Regions from separate parts of the Homo sapiens genome. Here regions 1, 2 and 3 are each linked to region 4. The links are contacts of gene promoters, found by promoter capture Hi-C in blood cells and fetal thymus (Javierre and others, 2016). All regions are on one chromosome and are shown on one strand. Each heading gives the region's core, a stretch centred on a gene start or on the middle of the fragment in contact. The rest is flanking DNA. Distances are from core to core; before and after follow the strand shown.

What was found. The method cuts DNA at HindIII sites, captures the fragments that hold promoters and counts their contacts. A CHiCAGO score of 5 or more calls a contact.
Region 1: a contact is called between a fragment that was not itself captured here and the fragment with the promoter of ACTR8 in region 4, in 1 of 17 cell types (neutrophils). The highest score is 7.8, in neutrophils.
Region 2: a contact is called between a fragment that was not itself captured here and the fragment with the promoter of ACTR8 in region 4, in 1 of 17 cell types (neutrophils). The highest score is 7.7, in neutrophils.
Region 3: a fragment that was not itself captured here is called in contact with the fragment with the promoter of ACTR8 in region 4 in 1 of 17 cell types (neutrophils); the score reaches 6.6 in neutrophils.

What each region holds. Positions count from the first base shown.
Region 1 is chr3:52,673,326-52,676,025 of GRCh38, forward strand. All of the region lies in intron 3 of PBRM1 (polybromo 1), which reads right to left. Among named protein-coding and RNA genes, the nearest start is that of PBRM1, 11 kb to the right of the region's middle. The HindIII fragment of the contact is 1,908 bases long and covers 367-2,274 here.
Region 2 is chr3:52,537,792-52,540,491 of GRCh38, forward strand. It overlaps UQCC5 (ubiquinol-cytochrome c reductase complex assembly factor 5), which reads left to right. Exons shown (of 2, transcript NM_001124767.2): 2 at 2,633-2,700. The coding sequence ends at 2,694. Among named protein-coding and RNA genes, the nearest start is that of UQCC5, 2.5 kb to the left of the region's middle. The HindIII fragment of the contact is 7,688 bases long and covers 1-2,700 here.
Region 3 is chr3:52,693,034-52,695,733 of GRCh38, forward strand. It overlaps GNL3 (G protein nucleolar 3), which reads left to right. Exons shown (of 15, transcript NM_014366.5): 10 at 1-13; 11 at 154-296; 12 at 375-511; 13 at 599-774; 14 at 1,004-1,070; 15 at 1,160-1,464. The coding sequence ends at 1,242. It overlaps GLT8D1 (glycosyltransferase 8 domain containing 1), which reads right to left. Exons shown (of 10, transcript NM_018446.4): 8 at 2,388-2,554; 9 at 2,157-2,269; 10 at 1,453-2,002. The coding sequence ends at 1,812. Among named protein-coding and RNA genes, the nearest start is that of SNORD69, 1.6 kb to the left of the region's middle. The HindIII fragment of the contact is 2,205 bases long and covers 300-2,504 here.
Region 4 is chr3:53,880,820-53,883,519 of GRCh38, forward strand. It overlaps ACTR8 (actin related protein 8), which reads right to left and starts at 1,333. Exons shown (of 13, transcript NM_022899.5): 1 at 1,160-1,333. The coding sequence starts at 1,282. RefSeq lists silencers at 960-1,069, 1,460-1,549 and an enhancer at 1,220-1,299. The HindIII fragment of the contact is 9,111 bases long and covers 676-2,700 here.

The DNA.
Region 1 (2,700 bases), core at 71-2,570, 1.2 Mb before region 4:
GGTGTTAAAAAACAAAATGAAACAAAAAAATTAAATAATTTAAAAAACATGCTTCACTCTCGGCCAGGTGCAGTGGCTCATGCCTGTAATCCCAGCACTTTGGGAGGCTGAGGCGGGTGGATCACCTGAGGTCAGGAGTTCGAGACCTGCCTGGCCAATATGGCAAAACTCCGTCTCTACTAAAAGTACAAAAAAAATTAGCCAGGCATAGTGGTGTATGCCTGTAATCCCAGCTACTCGGGAGGCTGAGGCAGGACAATTGCTTGAACCCAGGAGGTGGAAGTTGCAGTGAGCCAAGACTGTGCCACTGCACTCCAGCCTGGGCAACAGAGTGGGACTCCATCTCAAAAAAAAAAAAAAAAAAAAAGCTTCTTTCTCAAGGAATTAGAGAAAAGAAGAGCAAACTAAACCCAAAGCTAGCAGTAGATAATAAATAGAAAGGAGGGCCAGTGCAGTAGTTCATGCCTATAATCCCAGCACTTTGGGAGGATGAGGTGGACAGATCACTTGAGGTCAAGAGTTTAAGACCAGCCTGGGCAACAAAGTGAAACCCTATCTCTACTAAAAATACAAAAATTAGCCAGGCATGGTGGCACACGCCTGTAATCCCAGCTACTTGGGAGGCTGAAGCATAAGAATCACTTGAACCTGGAAGGCAGAGGCTGCAATAAGCCATGATCACGCCACTGCACTCCAGCCTGGGCAACAGAGCAAGACACTGTCTCAAAAAAAAAATATATATATAGATATATATATAGAATGCAGATAAACGAAATTAGAGAATAGAAAAACAATTTTAAAAATTAAACAGTTGGTTTTTTTAAAAGATCAACAAAATTGGTAAACACTTAGCTAGATTAACTAAGAAAGAAAGAGCTGAGCACGGTGGCTCACGCCTGTAATGCCAGCACTTTGGAAGGCCAAGGTAGGCGGATCACCTAAGGTCGGGAGTTTGAGACCAGCCTGACCAACATAGAGAAACCCTGTCTCTACTAAAAATACAAAATTAGCTGGGCGTGGTGGCCCATGCCTGTAATCCCAGCTACTCGGGAAGCTGGGGCAGGAGAATCGCTTGAACCTGGGAAACGGAGGTTGTGGTGAGCCACAATCGAGATCGCACCACTGCACTCCAGCCTGGTGCGAAACTCCATCTCAAAAAAAAAAAAAAAAAAGAGAGAGAGAGGCTGGGTGTGGTGGCTCACACTTGTGATCCTAGCACTTCGGGAGGCCAAGGTAGGAGGATCACTTGAGCCCAGGAGTTTGAGACCAGCCTGGGCAACACAGGGAAACCCTGTCTCTACCAAAAAAAAAAAAAAAAATATATATATATATATATATATACACACACACACACACATATATCTCCTTACCTAACATTACATACGTTATTTTTTAATATGTATGTAGCGTTAGGTAAGAATCCAGCATATTTTTACATATATAAATAAAAAATACGTTATATATACAATATATATATTTTATGTGTTTACTATATACATACACACGTATATATAACATATATATTAGCCAGGTATGGTAGCATCAGGTGAGAGGACTGCTTGAGTCCGGGAGGTTGAGTCTGCACTGAACTGTGATTGCCACTGCACTCCAGCCTGGGTGCCAAAGCAAGATCCTGTCTCAAAAAAAGACAGAAAGGAGGAGGGAGGGAGGGAAGAAGTAAGGGAGAAAAGAGATGCAAATAACTAAAATCATAAAGAGGAGACATTACAACCAATGCCACAAAAATAAAAAGGATTATGAGAGTTCTAGGAAAACATGTATGCCAACAAATTAGATAAACTAGAAGAAATGGATAATTTCCTAGAAACACACAACCTACTAAAGACATACAAAGCCTGAGTAAACCTATAACTAGTAAGGAGACTGAATCAGTAATAAAAAATCTCCCACAAAGAAAATCCCTAGACTGATAGCTTCACTGATGAATTCTAACCAGACATTTCAAGAACTAACACACCAAGCCTTATGAAACTTTTCCAAAAAATTGAAGAGGCGAGGTCACGTCCTAACTTATTCTATGAAGCTAGCATTACTCTGATACCAAAGCCAGACAAAGATACTACAAGAAAACTACTGATCAATATCCCTTATGAATACTGATGCAAAATTTCTCAATAAAATATTAGCAAACTGAATTCAGCAGGATATTAAAAGGATTATATACCATAACCAGGTGGGATTTATTCCACAGTGAACAAGGTGTTGAAGTGGTGAAAGTGGGCATCTCTGTCTTGTTCGTGATCTTAGAGGAAAAGCTTTAAGTATTTTGCCACTGAATATGTTGTTCACAGTAATCAAAATGTGTGCTACTGGTATAAAAACAGACACAGGGACCAATGGAATAGAATGGAGCCTAGAAACGACCCTCACATACACGGTCAAGCAAATTTTGACAAAGGCGCCAAAACCATTCAATGAGAAAAGCACAGTCTTTTCAACAAACGATACCGGGAAAACTGGATACACACATATAAAGAATGAAGCGGGGGCCGGGCGCGGTGGCTCACGCCTGTAATCCCAGCACTTTGGGAGGCCGAGGCGGGCGGATCACGAGGTCAGGAGATCGAGACCATCCCGGCTAAAATGGTGAAACCCCGTCTCTACTAAAAATACAAAAAATTAGCCGGGCGTAGTGGCGGGCGCCTGTAGTCCCAGCTACTTGGGAGGCTGAGGCGGGAG
Region 2 (2,700 bases), core at 51-2,550, 1.3 Mb before region 4:
CAGGGAAGGCTTCCGGAAGCAGCTACCAAGTAAAGTAGGACCTGAAGACTGAGTAGGTGTCAGTCAGATGAGGGGAAGGTGTGTGGAATTGAAAGCATCTCCATGGCAGTGGTAGGAGCACTTGTGTGAGAGTATGCTGTGTGTTTGAGGGATTGAAGCAGATCAACAAAGTGGGGATGGCTAGAAGGGTGCCTGGGCAGGGTGGCAAAGGGACTGGAGAACCAAGAATGGATCCCAAGGATTGAGTCATTTTAGGGAGAGGCTTTAACATGTGGAGAATGGCTCCTTGTGGACAGATTGGTAGGAACAGTTACGCTGTATGGCTGTCCAGAGTTGAGACAGTGGCCTGGTCTAGGTTGGGGCAGAAAGGATACCAAGAAGGGATGGAAGTAAAAGACAGCCCAGAGGTAGTACTGACAGGGCATGGTGATTAAGTGGACTCAGGAGATGAGGAGTGGAGGCTTCTGGTGGGACACCTGGGGCAGGGGGTAGTGCATTTCCTGAAGGTGCCGAACACAGGCAGGGCCATCCTGGGCACCATCTGGGACGTGACGAGGTAGATATGGTTATACAGAGCTGAAGCTCAGGAGGCAAATCTGGGCCAGAAATTGGGATTTGTGAACCATTCAGAAGCAAATTATGATGGAAGTCAAATCCCAACATTTTAATTTAATTTATTTATTTTTTGAGACTGAGTTTCGCTCTTGTTGCCCAGGCTGGAGTGCAGTGGTGCGATCTTGGCTCACCGCAACCTCTGCCTCCCAAGTTCAAGTGATTCTCCTGCCTCAGCCTCTGGAGTAGCTGGGATTACAGGCATGCACCACCACGCCCGGCTAATTTTGTATTTTTAGTAGACATGGGGTGTCTCCATGTTGGTCAGGCTGGTCTAGAACTCCTGACCTCAGGTGATCTGCCCACCTTGGCCTCCCAAAGTGCTGGGATTACAGGCGTGAGCCACTGCGCCTGGCCCAAATCCCAACATTTTAAGGGTAACTGAGAATGGCCAGAAAGGCAAGGAGGGAAACCAGGAGGATTTGTTATCACAGAAGACAGGAGGTTAAATACATCTGGCTCTGTGAAGGGGAGGTAACCCCCCTTCCTCTAGGAGAGACTGCAGGATATGCAAATAATGATCTAGAAGGAGAGGGTGGAGAGAGGCTGGAGATACTGGACCCTTGAGAGGGTGGGACCAGAGCTGGGTGACAGGAGTAAGCCCTTGGAAGTTAGCTGGAAGAGTTCCTTATGATGACTTTCCTCTGTGAAGGAAGAGAGGAAATGGCCATTTGGGGGTGGGTGAAAAAGAGTCAGGATGATGGCTGAGGAAACAGGATTGTCAGACACCTCAGTGGACCCAGTTAGAGGCATCAGTTGGCCCCTCAGGACACAGCAAGCAGGGTGAAGCATGGGGAAGGGAGGAAGTTGGATTAATCTGTGGTTGGGGTTTTGAGGGTGTGTCAGGAAGTTAAGATATTGACAAGAGTATGAAGGAATTTTAGCTGATTTGCCAGGAGAGAGAACAAGAAGCGGCTGAGCGGGTAAGACGGGGCCAAGGACCTGGGGAAGAAACGTGAGGTCCAAGGACAGGAGGGCTGGAAAGGTAACGGGGGTTGTGGTATGAACAGAAATCCTTCAGAGGAGCCCTGCAAGTGACTGGAAGATGTTGAAGGTGAAGGGTACTGGAGCTTCATCCCCATGGGTAATGGTGGTATCTGGGGAGAAGGCACAGGACAGGGTCAAGGAACCTGAGCCAGAGGCCAGCACTTTTGGTGACTGAAGGGGCATGATGGAGAGCAGGTGCCAAAGAAAGATGGTGGCAGACAAATGGCATGAGCCATGAAGGAAGAAGATTTTTTTTTTTTTTTTTTGAGACAGAGTCTTGGTCTGTCACCCAGGCTGGAGTGTGGTGGCACGATCTTGGCTCACTGCAGCCTCTGCCTCCTGGGTTCAAGCGACTCTCCTGCCTAAGCCTCCTGAGTAGCTGGGACTACAGGTGCCTGCCACCACACCCGGTTAATTTTTGTATTTTTAGTAGTGACGGGGTTTCACCATACTGGCCAGGCTGGTCTCAAACTCCTGACCTTGTGATCCGCCTGCCTCGGCCTCCCAAAGTGCTGGGATTACAGGCGTGAGCCACTGTGCCCGGCCTGGAAAGAAGATTCTTTACATGAAGGTGGCGAGTCAAAGGTCTGGCAAAGCAGCAGCTGGAACAAGGAAACTGATCTCCTCTCCCCACCTGAAGGTTTCTGGATATGGGAGAGGGAGCATCAGAGAGCCAAGAGGCAAGAAGTGCCTTTGAGGAGCCAGGTTTTAGTTAAGAAGGATGACTTCAGAGCACAGAATAGAAATTATGGGGGAGAAGGAAGTGAGGGACATCTTAAAACACTAAGAGATGTGCTAAGACATGATTCTATCTTTCAAGACACTGACTTTTACCCTATTTAAGTCTAGAACTCCATTATCATAGTCCTCATCTAACTCAAGTTTTGTTTTAAGTTTATTTTGGCATTGAGTTAAATATTAATGCCAAGATTCAGAAGTAGGTGACAGACCTAGACTATTGGTTAAATTATTCAGATTGTTTTAATTTTAAATATGTTTCTTAAACATCTGAGCAACTTTTTGTTTGATACAGATGATGTCTACCGTAGAAAAGCCTCAGAAAGACAGTATCAGAGAAGGCTGGAAGATGAATGAGACTGA
Region 3 (2,700 bases), core at 152-2,651, 1.2 Mb before region 4:
TGATGCTCGACAGGTAAAAGGACCCCTTCTCATGAGCTCCTTGGAGCCATCTTCTTTCATCATAAGCATTTTGAGTAGAAAAATCTTGGAAGTGTTTTAAAGTACTGGCATGTCAGATGAAGGACAGCTCCTTTGTTTGGTTTTTTTTTTAAGGTAGTACTGAAATATACTGTCCCAGGCTACAGGAATTCTCTGGAATTTTTTACTGTGCTTGCTCAGAGAAGAGGTATGCACCAAAAAGGTGGAATCCCAAATGTTGAAGGTGCTGCCAAACTGCTGTGGTCTGAGTGGACAGGGTAAGCTTTCTTTTCTGTTGGCATTTTGGTGACCACTAGAATAAACCTTCTTTTGACACATCTTATTTTTAATATCAGTGCCTCATTAGCTTACTATTGCCATCCCCCTACATCTTGGACTCCTCCTCCATATTTTAATGAGAGTATTGTGGTAGACATGAAAAGCGGCTTCAATCTGGAAGAACTGGAAAAGAACAATGCACAGAGCATAAGAGGTGAGAATTGTGTGTCGCTGCTGTCTTCATCAGCTGACAGGCCAGTGGAGCTCTTACCTGTTTACATGGGCTTGCTTTCTTTCCCAGCCATCAAGGGCCCTCATTTGGCCAATAGCATCCTTTTCCAGTCTTCCGGTCTGACAAATGGAATAATAGAAGAAAAGGACATACATGAAGAATTGCCAAAACGGAAAGAAAGGAAGCAGGAGGAGAGGGAGGATGACAAAGACAGTGACCAGGAAACTGTTGATGAAGAAGTTGATGTAAGTGTGTCCTCCATGAGTTAAAACTGAAGTGAGTTTTCTAGCATTATAATACATAATGGAAGGAACTGAAGATAGGAAATATTTGAGGCTTGTGATCCATTAGCCTTAATTTTGCACATCCCGTTATATGTACCTCCAAAGAGTTAATTTTTCAGGTACATAACTACTTGGATTAAATGAGCAGACAAGGGCTACTAATCCAGCACTATTTTTCTTTGTCACACAGGAAAACAGCTCAGGCATGTTTGCTGCAGAAGAGACAGGGGAGGCACTGTCTGAGGAGACTACAGCAGGTGAGGCAGGCAAAAGGGGTTCTAACGAAGCAGCATGGTATAGAATCACTTTTACTTTTTGAAAATCTCTTTATTTTCCTGCAATATAGGTGAACAGTCTACAAGGTCTTTTATCTTGGATAAAATCATTGAAGAGGATGATGCTTATGACTTCAGTACAGATTATGTGTAACAGAACAATGGCTTTTTATGATTTTTTTTTTAACATTTTAAGCAGACTGCTAAACTGTTCTCTGTATAAGTTATGGTATGCATGAGCTGTGTAAATTTTGTGAATATGTATTATATTAAAACCAGGCAACTTGGAATCCCTAAATTCTGTAAAAAGACAATTCATCTCATTGTGAGTGGAAGTAGTTATCTGGAATAAAAAAAGAAGATACCTATTGAAAAATGTAAGTTTTATTTACAGATCAGGCCACAGGTTACAAAATTAAAACCAACAGCAGTTTTGAATTATCTGTACCAGCTAGCTGAACTAGCCATATCAGTTCTTCTTTCCAGTCATTCAGCATTGTAGTAAGAAAACACTTGGTAAGGCAGATGGAGACATATTTATAGTCTATAGTCTGTCTGGGAAGCTGACTGCCAGACAGGGCAGTTTGTCATCTTTACCTAGCTGACACATCTTTTTCCATGGCTTGCTACCGATAGGCATTGAAGCCTAGCAACTGTTACTTCCCACGCATGCTATCTTCCAGGACTTCCTGAGAAATGCTTGCTTACAGTTCAAATTCTGTTTCACTTTATGTTTGAGATCTCGGTATATCTTCGGATTAGGTTGAATTTGCCTGTTGGGTCTGGAATATACCATTTTTCCCAAACATCAGTATATGAAGCAGTCCTTCCCCATGGCTTCAAATGTCCATTCCAATGGAGTAACTTGGCAGCCTTTACAAACTGAGGTGAATATCGTTTTCCAGCACTGGAACCTTACATTTGAGACAAAAATAGCCACATCGTTGCGCCATGTGAAATTGTGCAGAAAACTTACTTAAGGGAAACAAAGAATATACCCCATCCCTGAGGATAGTTCTTTAGATACCAATTCTTTACTAGCTTATGCCACTGGTTAATTCTACTTACCAAGGTGGCGGACATTCCACATAGGATCGATGGTAGAGTGCTGTTGATAAAATACGATAAGCAGAGGAGGTGTTGTGATGCTACCAGCCAGGGTTCTGCTATACAGTCCCTCTCTTGGTGGGACAGAAAACAAATGTTTGTTAGTGAAAAGTACTGACTAACTCCTGTTAGTCAAGACTCTAGGAATTGAAATACAACAGTTTTTCACAGCTAGGCCAGTTACATACTTACTCTACATTGAGTTTCATCCATTTTTCCAGTTGGTTAGTTATATTCTGTCGTTTCCATTCCGTCAGGTTTGCAACAAAAACTCCAGGATTAAATGAGCAAGTGCTGGCTTTCATGGAAAGCTTACGAATTCTTTCCTTTTTATAGTCAAGATAGCCAATGTAATTGTACTAAAAACACAAATAGGATATATGTACTTACTGCTTCAAACAAAATAGATACAATTTTATAGCCAGTAGAGAGAAGAGCTGTTAAACTGACTTCTTCAGATTAGAAAATAAATATTTGAAATTCCAAGTTAGAATAGGAACCTAGA
Region 4 (2,700 bases), core at 83-2,582:
ACCTTCAGGACTCTAAACAGATGTCACCTCACCTCCTTTGAAGAAACCCTCCCTGACTGTCGGGGATGGAGGAGGTACTTGCTTGAGTGCCCAATACTGCCCTCTGCACAAGCCCATTCCATGCCATGCTCTGATACCTGTTGTCCTATCTCCAAGTGTGACCTCTCTCCTCCTAATCACCCCCCACAGAGTGGGAGAATCCTAGAGGGAAGGATCTGGCAAGGCCCTTACAGACCATCCAGTCAGCCTTCTCAACTAGACAGATGGAGAAACCAGGCCTGTGCAACAGTAATGGCCACTCTGGGCTTACGGTGTGCCAGGCACTGTCATACTAGTGATAACTAACTAGTAGCTGCCCTACTAGTTAGGTATTATCCTTAACCCATCTACCGGTAAGGAAGCTGGATCAGAGATGTCCTACATGAATTTCTGAGCAGTTTATGCCTCATTTCTTCTGTGAATTGTACACTGCCTGTGCCCGTTTTCCTACGTGAATGCTGTTTTAGTTACTGATCAGTAAGGTTTTGTGTATGTGTATACATCTAAGGTCCTCTGCCAGGCACGCTACTGCAAATAATTTTTTCTGGTTAGTTTAGTTTGGTCTAATAGTGTTGTTTTTGATACACAAGCTCTTAATATATATTTAGACAAATGTCCACCATTTCCTTGCTTTTAAGCTTGAAATGACTTCCATTATCTGAGATTTCCTTAACAAAGGAAAAAGCCTGGACCCCAAACTATCCCTTAACAAGCACAGGCTGACGCTCCCAGTGAGCCAGCCTGGTCCTAAACTCTATCTGCCACCATTTAACCCTCACGGCAACTTGCGAGGCGGCTGGTTATCACCGTGGTCGTTTTATGGTCGGGGAAGCTGAGGCCAGAGCCCGGGCAGGAGCGCACACAACCAGACGGTGGGGCGTGCGGGAGATCGGAGCGGTGTCCCTGCGGGGGCTCCGCCTGGCTCCTGGCGCTCCGCACCTCCCAGCCCTCGGCGTCCCGGCGCGCCACCACCCGGAAAAGAACGACCGCTTCCGCACTCCCCCCACCAGGGGCTGGGGCCTGCAAGGGGGACTCGAAGCCTCCCGCCGCCTCCCGCCCCTTGCCTGGCAGCGGAGGACCCAAGCAAGGGCAAAGAGTTCCAACCCAGCCAGAGCCGCACCTCTTGCAGCGACTCCGGCACCAGCGCGGGCACGATGGGCCGCTTCACGCCGCGCTGCTCCTTCTCCTTCTCGCCGCCCTTCTCCTTTCCGTTCTCCGTATCACCCTTCTCAGCCTGGGTCATTATGGCCGGAGACACCCACCAACCTCTCGCCTCAGCGCTGCAGCCACGACTGCCGGGATGGAAGGGCCACCGCGCAGGCGCACGGCCGGCTGCCCACAGTCAAGATGGCCGCCGCGGAGTCGCCCCAGAGGGCTCCGAAAAGGCGGGGGTGGGGCTGCCCGGCGCAGGGGCTGGGGGCGGGGTGTGCATGCGGATTGATTGGGTGGGTGTTGCTGTGATTAGTCCTGACTGTGTAGATGCCAGCAACATAGTACACATAGCTTTTCGAGCGCCTAGTGGGGGTCGGCTGATAACCCGCATCTTATTTCGTCCTCACAGGCATCTCTTCTCCTGGCTTCCCAGATACCATATGTACTCTTAGTTTTTCTCATATGTCTTCATGTTCAGTCCAGCCTCTGATGTTGGGGTTAGGTCTTTTCCAGGCACACTCCTTGGGTGACTATCCAGTTTCCTGGCTTTAGCAATGAATACGATTCCCAAATATATATATCCAGGATGAACCGCTCAGAGAGATCCGTACTGATAACCAGTGCCTACTTGGTCTCTCCATCTGGATTGTCTACAAGGCACTGCAAACTTAAATATGTCCAAAATTTAACTCTTGATTCCCTCCCCTCTCACTTTCACCATCTCAGTAAATGTCATTTTGATTCTTCACTTGTTGACAGCTTCTACATCCAATCCATCAGTAAATCCTGCAGTCTCTAAAATAGATCTTGAATTCATCCACTTCTCCATTCCCATGCCACTACCTAGCCCAAGCCACTATCATCTCACCTGGATGACTACAACAGCCTCTTAACTCGAACTCCTTGTCCTGTCCCCCTATGATCTGTTCTTATATAGTTGCCCACGTTGTTTTAAAATATTACGTAGTTAATACTACTATGTACCCAGCACTCCACTAAGACTTACCTCAAAAATTAGATGTCACTCATGCTTTAAACTCTAATGGTTTCCCTTTGCTCAAAGAACAGAATCTAAACTAACCACCACCTAAAGACCATATCTAGTTATTGCTACATTTCTAAGTTCACCTCACAACACTCTCCCCATTCCTTGGCATTTCCAGCTACACCTGTTTTATCTTTCTCAGACATGCCAAGCCCTTCCCGTCATCGGGCTGTTGCACTTGCTGTTCATTTTGCCTTGGATGCTCTTCCCTCAGCTGTCTCATTCTCACGTCTGAACTCAAATGTCACCTCAGGCCTTCCGCAGTTATTCTCTCATCATCCTATTCCCTTTGAAGCATGAAGCATTAGTCTGTAATTATCATGCCTGCTCACTGTCTCCCACACTAGAATGTAAGCTCCGTGAGACTTTGCCAGTTATCTTCAGCACATGGTAGGTGCCCAATAAGCATGTGATGACTAAATACTAAATAAAGAACTCTTGGAGGTAAAAATTTAATCCCCGTT